Linked DNA regions of Homo sapiens: all the other regions are linked to region 2. Evidence: promoter capture Hi-C in 16 types of primary human blood cells and fetal thymus (Javierre and others, 2016). All regions are on one chromosome and are shown on one strand. The core of a region is centred on a gene start or on the middle of the fragment in contact, and the rest is flanking DNA. Distances in the headings are between cores, read along the strand shown.

Region 1 (3,656 bases), core at 538-3,037, 360 kb before region 2:
TCTCGTAAATGGTTGACCTGCATCTCTGAGCTGCTGTTAAAGCAAATTTAAAATAACATTTTGTTGTTTTCATTTCTTATTCCCTTTCTAGCCCTGCAATCTCTAGTGAATCCTTTTTGCTTTTCTTATTCTTTTCTTTTTTCTTTACATTTGGCACAGTGAGAAAGAGGCAGAAACAGAGGGTAAATTTTATTGCTCTTTTCATGAGAAACTTAGCATATAATTCCCAGTCCAGATCTTCAGCCCCAAGTCAGGAAGGAATCATCCCTGCTGGGAAAGACCAGGGCCAGAGAGCTTAGATCCAGGGGCAACTTTTCTAGAGATGTTGCTCCCTGGATTCTCCCACTTTATTTTTTTAATCCCATAAAAACAATATGGCAAGATAACAGAATCTTGGAAGATAGGAGAAAGTCTCTCTAGACCACCCCTCCTTTCATTACATGTCTTCCTGGTGCCAGGTCCTGTTGGCCACTGAGCCCCTTTCTGTCTTCCCTGCTCCCCTGTGACTCCTAGCTTTGTTAGGGCACCCTTCTCCCCCGGGCCTGGCCTCTAGGAAGTCACAGCTCTACGGCATTCCCCAGGCTCTCAGACTCATCTTTCCTGAAACTCTCCCACAGCCTCTTATATCCATCCCCAAAACAGTTCCCAGGGTCAATGCACCCCTTGCGTTTAGTACTGAGAACACAAAGCCTCCTTCCCTTAGCCTACAAAGCACACGGATCTCTGAGCAGCATGTGCAGTGTCAGTGCATGACCATTGCTGGGGAGGAAAACTTTTCTTCTGTGCTCTTACATTCAGTATTTAGGGGCCTGTACATTAAACTGACAAAAGACAGATTAGCAAAAGAAAAAACCAGGCATGGTGTGGCTTATGCCTCTGATCCCAGTGACTCTGGAGGCTGAGGCAGGAGGATCACTTAAGCCCAGGAGTTCGAGGCTGCAGTGAGCCCTGATCATGCCACTACACTTTAGCCTGGAGGACAGTGAGACCCTGCCTCCAAAAAAAAGAGAACATATTATTGTTCAAATTTGTGTGTACATGAGAGTTCACACACACACAAAAGCTGACTCCAGGAGGAGGTTAGAATCTGGGGCTTATATGCCATCTTAACAGGGAGTGGGCAGATGCAGAGGGGAACTTCTACATGACCAAACAACTTAGGAAAAATAAATAGCTTCTTAGGTGAGTCCACGGGAAGTATGTATTGTCCCCATGAACTGTGGGGATAGTTTTGTAACAATATCCGTTCAGGCAATTTCTTATCCAGGTGATGCCTTGTGTTGACTTCTCTTCAATGATAAGAGTCAATCTTCTCTTCTTGTGAAATTCCCGGGAAAGGATTTATAATAGTTGAATTCTTTGGGGAGGCTTTGCATTTAGGAAGATAAGGGGAGTTCAGGAAGAGCCTCTTCCTGCAGCTGTTGATTCTCAAATGTCTTCAGCTCAAAATACTCCACATGGTCCTGTGGCATACTGCAGACCTCTTCACCCTGCAAGTCTTTGGTCTAGAATACCCTGCCGGACGCCAGCAGCCCGCCCACAGGCCTAAGCTCAGGGCCCAAGCTCCTGAGCTCCTCTTCCAGGCCTGTACTGACGCTGGCCCAGGTCCGATCAGGCACCCAGCCCCCGATTCCGTGGCTGCCCACATGAACCTCAGTGGGCGACCCAACACGTGTGCAATGTTATGAGGGAAGCTTAGGGAAGGGAGGCTGGAGCCAGCCTTGTTGAATCCCCCACTCCTCACCCAGCTCCTGGCATACTGTAGGAGTTCAATAAATGTCTGAGGAACAAATGGAGGAGACTATGAATGTTTTGTGAGGGCTTTCTGCCCCTCAGGCAAAGCATCACAAGATGATATAAGGATACAAAGCCAAAGCTTTTAAAGAAATCCTCATTAACTGAATTAGTCATATTCTGAAGTGGCTTTTATCTTAATGAAATTTCACTGTATCTCAGTATTATTTGAAATAAAGGAGCCATCAGTTTGGATTTAGGAAATGTGGATTTTCAGGGTCTTGGGATTTGATTTCTAGATGTGAGTTGTTTTTCCTCATACACCAGAACCATTCTGTAGCAATATAATGCAAGCCACTTATATAATTTTAAATTTTCAAGTAGTCACATTAAAAGAGTAATAAGATACAAGCGGCTGGGCATGGTGGCTCATGCCTGTAATCCCAGCACTTTCGGAGGCCTAGGAGGGAGAAATGTTTGAGCCTAAGAATTCGAGACCAGCCTGGGCAACATATTGAAACCCCCCCACCAATCTCTACAAAATATCAAAAATTTGGCCAGGTGTGGTGGCACAAACCTGTGGTCCCAGCTACTTGGGAGGTTGAAGTGGGAGGATTGCTTAAGCTCAGGAGGTCGAGGCTGCAGTGAGCCATGATCCCACCACCACACTCCAGCCTGGGTGACAGAGTGAGACCCTGTATCCAAAAAGAAAAAAGAAAAGAAAAGAAGAAAAAGAAAGAAAGGAAAGAAGAAAGAAAAGAAAGAAAGAAGTGAACTTCATTTTAATCATATATTTTATTTAACTCAATATATCCAAAATAGTATTGACATGTAATCAATATTTAAAATTATTAATGAGATATTTTACATTCCTTTTTGTACTAAGTCTTTGAAATTTTACAGTTTCAACACATCTCATTTGGGACTGGCCAAATAAGTACTCAGTAGCCACATGGCCAGTGGCTGGTACCCTGGACAGTGCAGTCACAGACATATGTCCTCTGAGTATTCCTGGAAGGTCCCCTGAGAACTATGACGTTAAGCGGTGGGCAGTGGCTCTGAGCACACAGCTGCAGCCTAGCGAACCAGAGGCCCAGGTCTGTCTGAGGTCACGAGGCACAACCAAAGACAATGAAGAAGAATCCGGAGCCTCTCTCAATTCTCCCAATCCTGGGACAGGGCAGGATCCCTCCAGATCCACCTTTTCTCTGTCGTCTCCTGGATCAGTCTGCTCAGACCTGGGCTGATAGGCCAGAGGTAGGAAGTTTGCTCTTGCTGGTGAAACTTTATTACTTCATTCAACAAGTACCTACTGGGCAGCTACTACGGGCCAGGCACTACTCTAGGACTTGGGATACAGCCGTGAACAAAGCAGTTTCCTGCCTTTGAGTAGATAGACAATGAAAAGTAAACAAAATAAACAAGCAGGTTGAATAATATACTGTACTGGAAAGTGGTGAGTGCTCTGAAAACAAAGGAAAAATAAAACAAGGTAAGGAAATAAGAAGTGCTGGGAGTGGGGCAGGTTACATTAAATTCTGCGGTCAGAGCTGGCCTCATTGTGAAGGTGAGATTTGAGAAGTCTGAATGCACAGAGTTGAAGGAAGTGAGCGAGTTGGCCAGGAGAGTACCCCAAACAGAGAGAACAGGTAGAGCAGAGGCTCTCAGGTGGGCGGGAGCACACCTGACATGATGGGGAAACTACAAAAAGACCTGAATATCTGGAGAAGATTGGGCAAGGGCGAGAGTGTTGGGAGCTGAACTCACAGAGCTAAGGTGTCGGGAAGGAGAAAGCAGATCATTTAGGGCCTTGCAGACCATTGCCAGGGCACTGGCTTTAATTTTGGGAAAAATGAAGAATTGCTATGTGATTTTGAATGTAGTAGCAGTGAAGATGCCGAAAGATCAATGGATTGTGGATG
Region 2 (4,050 bases), core at 478-2,977:
TTCTTCACTTCTCAGGAATTTTCTCTAATCCTTTCCTCTAACAACTCTTAGTTTCTGCCTATAACAAATTATTTGCAGCTTCTCCATGTGCCCAACTGCTCTTGCACATTTTGTTTTGAGTTTGAAATTTTCCTGCCCTTATACATTTTAAGTTTGGAATTTCCTGCTGTCTGCCTTTTAAATTGCCACTTGTACATCAAAATCTATCTCATGCACTCTGTTCTCCAGTAGAGTTAGCTGGTTCTTCTTTCCTTTGTGCTGCTACTGTTCCTCTGTTACAGCACTTGCTCTATACCAATGAGCTCCTTAACAGCAGTAACTGTGGCTGTGTCAGCTCTGTATTCCCAGTACCTAGCACAGTAATTGGCACATAGTTGGAATTTAATAACTGTTAGTGGACGGGCACAGTGGCTCATGCCTGTAATCTCAGCACTTTGGGAGGCTGAGGCAGGTGGATCACCTGAGGTCAGGAGTTCGAGACCAGCCTGGCCAACCTGGCAAAACTCCGTCTCTACTGAAAATACAAAAATTAGCTAGGCGTGGTGGCGGGTGCCTGTCATCCCAGCTACTCGGGAGGCTGAGGCAGGAGAATCGTTTGAACCTGGGAGGTGGAGGTTGCAGTGAGCCAAGATTGCACCACGGCACTCCAGCGTGCGTGACAGAGCGAGACCCTGTCTCATAATAATTTTAGTGAGTTTGGTTTTGGATGACTGAGGGACATCCAGTTGGAGAAATGTCCAGTCAGAGAAGAGTGGTGGTAGTGCCTGTTATTGGCTTAAAAGTGATGGTTGAAGTTCTGAATAAGAATTACATAAGCATGGGATGATAAACTAATAAAAATGCTGAGGTAGGACCTCTCATTTAGGGAGTAGGCCAAGGAAAAGAAGCCAGAAAAAGGAGACTAGGAAGAAGCTGCCAAGAGCAGCAGGAGTGTCCCTGGCATATAATAGACGCCCAGTAAATATTTATTGAATGAAAAAATTAGGGTTTAAAAAATTTATTTGGCTTTGAGGGTACTTGGGAGTTCATGATGCCCAAAAATGGATGTTTGTAAACAATGAACACATTTCACTCTGGTTTTTATGAATAGATTTTTTAAAAATCTTTTTTTTGAGATGGGGGTCTCACTATGTTGCCCAGGCTGGTCTCAAATTCCTTGGCTCAAGTGATCCTCCCACCTCTGTGCTGGGATTACAGATGTGAGCCACCAGGCCCGGCTCAGCTTTTTTATCACAAAATCTGTATATATTCATTGTTGAAACATGAGAAGAAAACACAGATAAAAAGAACTAAAAAGCAAACATAATCCTGTACAAATTTACCGTATCCAAGTTATTCATACCTTTCAGACCTCATCCTGTGTATATCCATATTTTTAACCTAAAAGGGGTCAGTTTGTAACTTGCTTTTTGCACTTGACAGTTTGGAGAATCATTTCCAAGGGAACATTCTCATACATGATTTCTAATGGCATCCCACTGTAGGCCACGTTAGCATTCCTAAATACGGTAATGCTTCCCAAAGTGGGAATGGGGAGAAGCAGAGCCTTTCTGACCCGCCTCGGGACGGGTGCAGGGGTGAGCGAGAGAGGGGGCGCTCCTCCCGCTCAAGCGAGGACCCAGGCCTGCGGGCGGCCGGGCGGGAGCGCTGCAGAGCCGGAGGAAGGGGCGGGACAGCGCGGCGCGGGGCGGGGCTGCGCTTAGCGGTTACCCCGGGCGGGCCGTTCAAACCTAAGGAGGTAAAGGCAGCGGCCCCACGCGAAGCTGGCGTGGGGGTTGCCATAGCCCGCATCCCAGGGGGCGAGGCCGAGGCTTCTCCCCGGCCCATCCAGCGGCTGCTGCCCGGCTCCTCTCCCACCTGTCCGCTTCGGCGCCTCGCCCGGCCCCGCGGCCTCCAGGCAGGCGGCGGGACCCCAGGCGAGTGCCCGTTAGCGGGTCTCCCGGCGGCCCGGCCCCGCGTCGCCCTGTGTCTTCCAGGTGCTGGGCCTAGGGAGGCGCGCGGCAGCCCTCACTCCTCCGCTCCTGGTGACGCCAGCCCATCCCCTGCTGCCCTTGGCTTTCTGGGCCTAGCGGATCTTTGACGCCCTGGTGAGACCGTTACCCACCCGCCCGCCATAGCTCCTCGGGGGAGTCAGTGCCAGGCTGCAGCACACGCTGCCTTTTCAGGAACCCGAATTTGGGAAGTTTACTCATGTCTAAGTCCAGCTGGAGAAAACAAGGATATTAAGATAACTATTTTCTGGAGGGCTGAAGGAAATTCAAAATGATTTAGACCTTCTCAAGTGTTAGGAATAATCCCTGCGGCATGCACCCTGTGTACCCTTCGACTTTGAGCAATCATGATGCTGCTGCACCTTTCAATTAATTGTGCAAACTAAAGTTTTCCTCTTTAAGTGGCATTATTTTGGCATGAGTTTTAAAGACAAAGATGAGAGAATTTCTTGTTTGGAAGCCTACGTAACTTTGACATCTAAGAGCTCAAGATTTACTGATGGTAAGAGTTTCCACTTTAACAAATGAAGAACATTTGGGTTTAATGTAAGTACTTCATTCTCTGATGTGGTAGGTGCTTTTTCTTTTTTTTCTTTTTCTTTTTTCTTTCTTTTTTTTTTTTTGAGACGGAGTCGCTCTGTCGCCCAGGCTGGAGTGCAGTGGCGCGATCTCGGCTCACTGCAAGCTCCACCTCCCGGGTTCACGCCATTCTCCTGCCTCAGCCTCCCGAGTAGCTGGGACTACAGGCGCCCGCCACCACGCCCGGATAATTTTTTTGTATTTTTAGTGGAGACGGGGTTTCACCGTGTTAGCCAGGTTGGTCTCGCTCTCCTGACCTCGTGATCCGCCCGCCCCGGCCTCCCAAAGTGCTGGGATTACGGGCGTGAGCCACCGCGCCCGGCCGCTGCTTTTTTTTTTTTTTTTCTTAAAGAACACTTTAGGAATAAGTTTTCTCAGCCTTTTATCAGAAGCCTAGTTTTTAAAAATGAATATCGAAGAGGCTTGATTGATTTATCCGTGAACTGTTGAGTCCATAAAATACAACAGACAGTCCATGATTTTACATGAATAATTTTAAAATTCAGTTGCGAAGAACCACGTTTGAGACCAACGTCTTGGGGTAGTAGAAAGATGAAAATGCTAGCAGAGAAAGGACGTTGGAGGCAACTTCAAGTGTGTAGATGAACAGAAACAATTTTTTTTTTAAGAGATGGGGTCTCACTATGTTACCCAGGCTGGTCTTAAACTCCTGGACTCAAGCATTTCTCCCGCCGCGGCCTCCTAAAGTGCTGGGATTACAGGCGTGAGCCACCGGCCAGAATAGATTTTTGGATAACATTTTAGAGGAAAGAGATAATATCTGCATTCCCCACTTTGTTTTTAACAATTTGCCTCTGAGTTTCCCAAATTCTAGCATTGTGAGACACCTAGTGGTGAAGTAGCAGTACAATTGCCATAACCTTTTAAAAGGACCGTGACCTGCCGGGCGCGTTGGCTATTGCCTGTAATCCCAGCACTTTGGGAGGCCAAGGTTGGGTGGATCACCTGAGGTCAGGAGTTCGAGACCAGCCTGGCCAACATGGCGAAAGCCCGTCTCTACTAAAAATACACAAATTAGCCGGGCGTGGTCGTGGGCGCCTGTAATCCCAGTCAGTGGGGAAGCTGATACAGGAAAATTGGTTGAACCCGGGAGGCAGAGGCTGCAGTGAGCAGAAATCACGCCACTGCACTCCAGCCTGGGCGAAAAAGCGAGACTCCGTCTCATAAAAAATAAAAAAATTAAAAATTAAAAATAAAAGGGCTGTGACGCAAATTGAGTGAAAAGTGTTATTTAACAGAATTACCTTCAGAGAGGGAGAAAACAGTTCATGGGTGGAGATGTAATTTTAATATGCATTCTACTTATTTAATATTTGTAAAACAAAATTGTTTAAAAATATAACAAAATTATAAAAAGCAATTTGATAAATCTATTTGGTTTGTGACCATGTGCAGAAGTTAGCAGTGATCTGAGAGGATGTAGATCAGAAGGGGACATGTATGACATTTATCAAAAACG
Region 3 (3,919 bases), core at 159-2,658, 430 kb before region 2:
ATTGTTTGTGTGCTTGCTTCTCTGGGCTGAGCTGACTGACATTTCACTAATCTATCTAGCAGATTGAAGTTCCGGAACAAAGCAAAAGTAAAAAATACCACATTCAACAAAGCCAGGTCTGTGAGTAAAATTATGTAATTGGTACATTATAATTTTGATAAATCTGATCTTTTTTCCTCTTTAACCAAAGTCATCTCACTTTCAATAATAAGTCAGAATTATGTTTCTCAGAAGCTCCTCTTTGTAGATTGGGCCAATTGGAAGGCCATCACAGAAGTATAGTATTTTTATTGTAGCACCCCATAGCACTACCAAGAATTTTTACATAGAAAATTTCCAAGAGAAACACAAAATTATTTGGTGATTTTTTTGTACACCCCTTGCACTTTTTGGAGGCAACTCTCTTTCTAATTTGTATATGTTACATATCTAGTATATTTTGGTCTCATAGTTTTCTGCAGTATACTCTGTATAAAGCAACTTTTAAGTTTACAAAATACTTTTTGAGCATTTAGATCTGCTGTGCAGATAATAATAGAAAAAATCACAATCAATGACATTTTTGAGCACTCATTATTGCCAGGCAGTATTCTAAGCACTTTTATGTGAATTAACACATTCCTTCACAGCCCTATAAATAAGTTGAGGAAATTAGTGCACAGAGAGGTTTTGTGACCTGCCCAAGGTTGCACAGCAGTCAAAGATGGAAAGAAGCAGGCAGTCTGACCCTGGAACTATGCCCTTAACTAACTGTGCCCTTGCTAACTCTTCCTTTCTAAGTCCAAATCCTAGTGTAGGTGAATGAAAGAAAAGTGACTTCTAAGTAGCATTTGAATGGGATTTCTTCTTGATCCAGCACCTGTCACAGAACTGGTGTGTATGTAAACATCCTTAGTATATATGTACAGTATTTATAAATATGTAAGTATATAAAGTCCTTTCTTGAATGAATACAGTCAGGGAAAATAAACTAGCAGAAATGCATAAAAGCATTCTCCTTCATAATCACAGCACTTCTGGCTGGTTGGACAGAGAGACGAGATAGGAACTCCACTGCTTACTGGCTATGTGTCATTAGGCAGATCCAAAACCTAACTTCATTAGGGACTCTGATACTGCACTTCCATATCTTTGTCTGTAAAATGTAGATGGCAATCACTTCATCATTTTAATGCACCCATTTTAGCAGCATGCCGACAGCATGGAGCTGTGGTTCTCAACTTTGGCTGCACATTGGAATCACCTGGGGAGCTCTAAAAACTAATGCTTGAGCCCCACCCTCAGAAATTTGGATTTAATTGGTCTGAGGGGCCTGGGCAATGGAATTTTTAAAAGCTCCCCAAGTGGTCCTATTATACAACCAGAATTGGAACCATTATCCTAGAACACCAGTTCTCAGTGTGTGGTCCCTGGACCAACAGCATCTGTATCACGTGGATCTTATTAGAAATTCAAATTCTCAGGCCCCAAACCTACTGGATCAGCAGCTCTGGGGGAAGGCCGCAGCAATCTCTTTAACACGCCCACCAGACAAATCTGATGCATGTTCAAGTTTGAGAGCCACTGTCCTAGGACAACAGATAACACTCAGCACAACTGTGATCAGTTCAGTTGTCCTCTCGGATGAGTGGTAACTCTAATACAGGCCAACCTATCTCATGCTGTGAGTAGGACCAGCAGGTCGGAAAGAGACCTAGTGTCCAACTATATTGAGTTTTAATTTATTTTGCAAACTGTTGTATAGACCTTATCCTGAGCCATGAACTGCTATAATTACTTTTTATGTATAACTCGTTTAATCCCAATAAACAACCAAAGCACTGTTATTATCCTTGGCTTACTGCACAGAGAACTGAAACACAGAAAGGTTAAGTCACTTGCTCAAGGTCACACAGTCAGTTAATATCAGAGCCAGTATTTGAACCCAAGCAGTCTTTATTTGTTGTTTAACAAATAAAATTAGTTTGTTGCTTTAACCACTTGGCAGTGAGGCCCCTCTATCAAAACAAATCCCTCGTAGAAAAAAAGTTGTAGCCCATCTGCCCACTGAGGGGCTCCACATTTTTTTTTTCACTTTCCACTTTCCATAACCGTGTCTTTGAGATTTCATAAGTACTGAAGGCAAATTACTCTTTAAAGATTTGCGGTAACCCTAACCTCTAAAATGTTTTAAAATAAGCATAACACTTTTTTTTTCTAATGAGACAGAGTCTCGCTCCCTTGCCCAGGCTGGAGTGCGGTGGTGCCATCTCGGCTCATTGCAACCTCCACCTCCCAGGTTCAAGCGATCCTCCTGCCTCAGCCTCCTGAGTAGCTGGGATTACAGGTGTGCACCACCACATCCGGCTAGTTTTTGTAGTTTTGGTAGAGATGGGGTTTCACCATGCTGGCCAGGCTGGTCTCGTACTCCTGGCCTCAAGTGATCCACCACCTCAGCCTCCCAACGTGCTGGGATTACAGGCGTGAGCCACTGTACACGGCCTCTTCTTTTTTTTTTTTTTTTTAGACGGAGTCTCACTCTGTTGCCAGGCTGAAGTGCAGTGGCACAATCTTGGCTCACTGAAACCTCTGCCTCCAGGGTTCAAGTGATTCCCCTGCCTCAGCCTCCCGAATAGCTCGGACCACAGGCGCCAGCCACCATGCCTAGCTAATTTTTTTGTATTTTATTAGAGATGGGGTTTCACCACGTTGGCCAGGGTGGTCTTGATCTCCTGAACTCGTGATCTGCCCGCCTTGGCCTCCCAAAGTGTTGGGATTACAGGCATGAGCCACTGCGCCTGGCCGCCCAGCCTCTTTTTTAAAGTTTGTATTTGTGTGGAATGTGCACTAAAGATTTTGGGCAAAGTTAAAAATTGAAAGTCGCATGGCTTTAAGAGGGGAAAGAGGCAAGACAGGTAGAGTTAAATGTTAACCTGGGTGATATCCCAGGGCCCTGAAAGATGCAGAGGACACATAAAACCAGTAGGCGGTGCTCTTCTCAGTCCTAACGAGTGTATTTACACTCACCCCAAAATAAAGCTTCTACAGAATAAAACTGTTTAAAATAACCATTGCTTATACAAATGTAAGCTTTCTGTTGCCCTTTCAATACTGTTTTAACCTCTGTGACTTTGTTATTGTTATGGAAATGATTTCCTTTCATTTACATTTCTGACCTCTCTGTTTACTTCACAGCAGAAAGACTATTCTAGTTTTCTATCAAGAAAAAGCAAGATTAAGATAGCTAAAGATGACTGCGTTTTTGGGAACATAAAGGAAGAAGATCTCTGAAGAAAGCTCTCATATTTTAAAATATCCTTGGAGGCTATCTCAAGACAGTGAAAGAACTTGGGGATTCAGGTGGGCTACCTACCATCAGTGGAGGAAATTTGACCTCTTCCCATTTTTTTGGCATTAACATGGACTGTATTCATCAAGGTATTATACCACAGCACTCTATGGAAATCTCAAGATTAGAAAAAAAAAAAGAACCAAGTTATAGAGTTAGTTTTTATTTTATTTTTGCACTTCGTCATGACAGTATAGAGTTTGTTTTTAATGTCTCATAAATGACAAGTGGCAAATTCAAATCAACTCATATAAAACTCATTCTATTTTTTCTCTAAAATAGATCTTTATATGGCTTCATGAAGTCTTTTATGTGTTTTGAATTTACATAAATGAAAGTCTCATAAAATATCATAAAGATATTTTGGATCGATTTCTAAAGATGTGACTCTTCAACGGAGGAGAATAGGGCTCTGAGAAATGGAATCACTGAAAAAGAAACCTGGGTTCTCTGATCTATCCACACAGAACTAGAGCAAGGAGGTGATGAAATACTGATCTCTTTCCTCACATAAGTCTGAGCCTACCAATATGGATGTACTCAAAGTGAAACGCTGCCCTGTTCTCTGCTTGACCATTGTTATAATTTTAT

What was found. Contacts are between HindIII fragments. The CHiCAGO score rates a contact against its expected background, and 5 or more counts as called.
Region 1: a contact is called between a fragment that was not itself captured here and the fragment with the promoter of FBXO43 in region 2, in 8 of 17 cell types (naive B cells, total CD8 T cells, naive CD8 T cells and 5 more). The highest score is 8.0, in naive B cells.
Region 3: a contact is called between a fragment that was not itself captured here and the fragment with the promoter of FBXO43 in region 2, in 16 of 17 cell types (naive B cells, total B cells, M2 macrophages and 13 more). The highest score is 9.7, in naive B cells.

What each region holds. Positions count from the first base shown.
Region 1 is chr8:100,506,152-100,509,807 of GRCh38, reverse strand. It overlaps a transcript of ANKRD46 not described here. Among named protein-coding and RNA genes, the nearest start is that of ANKRD46, 52 kb to the left of the region's middle. The HindIII fragment of the contact is 182 bases long and covers 1,697-1,878 here.
Region 2 is chr8:100,143,494-100,147,543 of GRCh38, reverse strand. FBXO43 (F-box protein 43) reads left to right here and starts at 1,727. Exons shown (of 5, transcript NM_001029860.4): 1 at 1,727-2,493. The coding sequence starts at 2,409. RefSeq lists a silencer at 1,544-2,003 and an enhancer at 3,115-3,264. The HindIII fragment of the contact is 15,929 bases long and covers 1-4,050 here.
Region 3 is chr8:100,573,216-100,577,134 of GRCh38, reverse strand. It overlaps SNX31 (sorting nexin 31), which reads left to right. Exons shown (of 14, transcript NM_152628.4): 13 at 60-116; 14 at 3,175-3,919. The coding sequence ends at 3,270. Among named protein-coding and RNA genes, the nearest start is that of ANKRD46, 15 kb to the right of the region's middle. The HindIII fragment of the contact is 3,224 bases long and covers 1-3,020 here.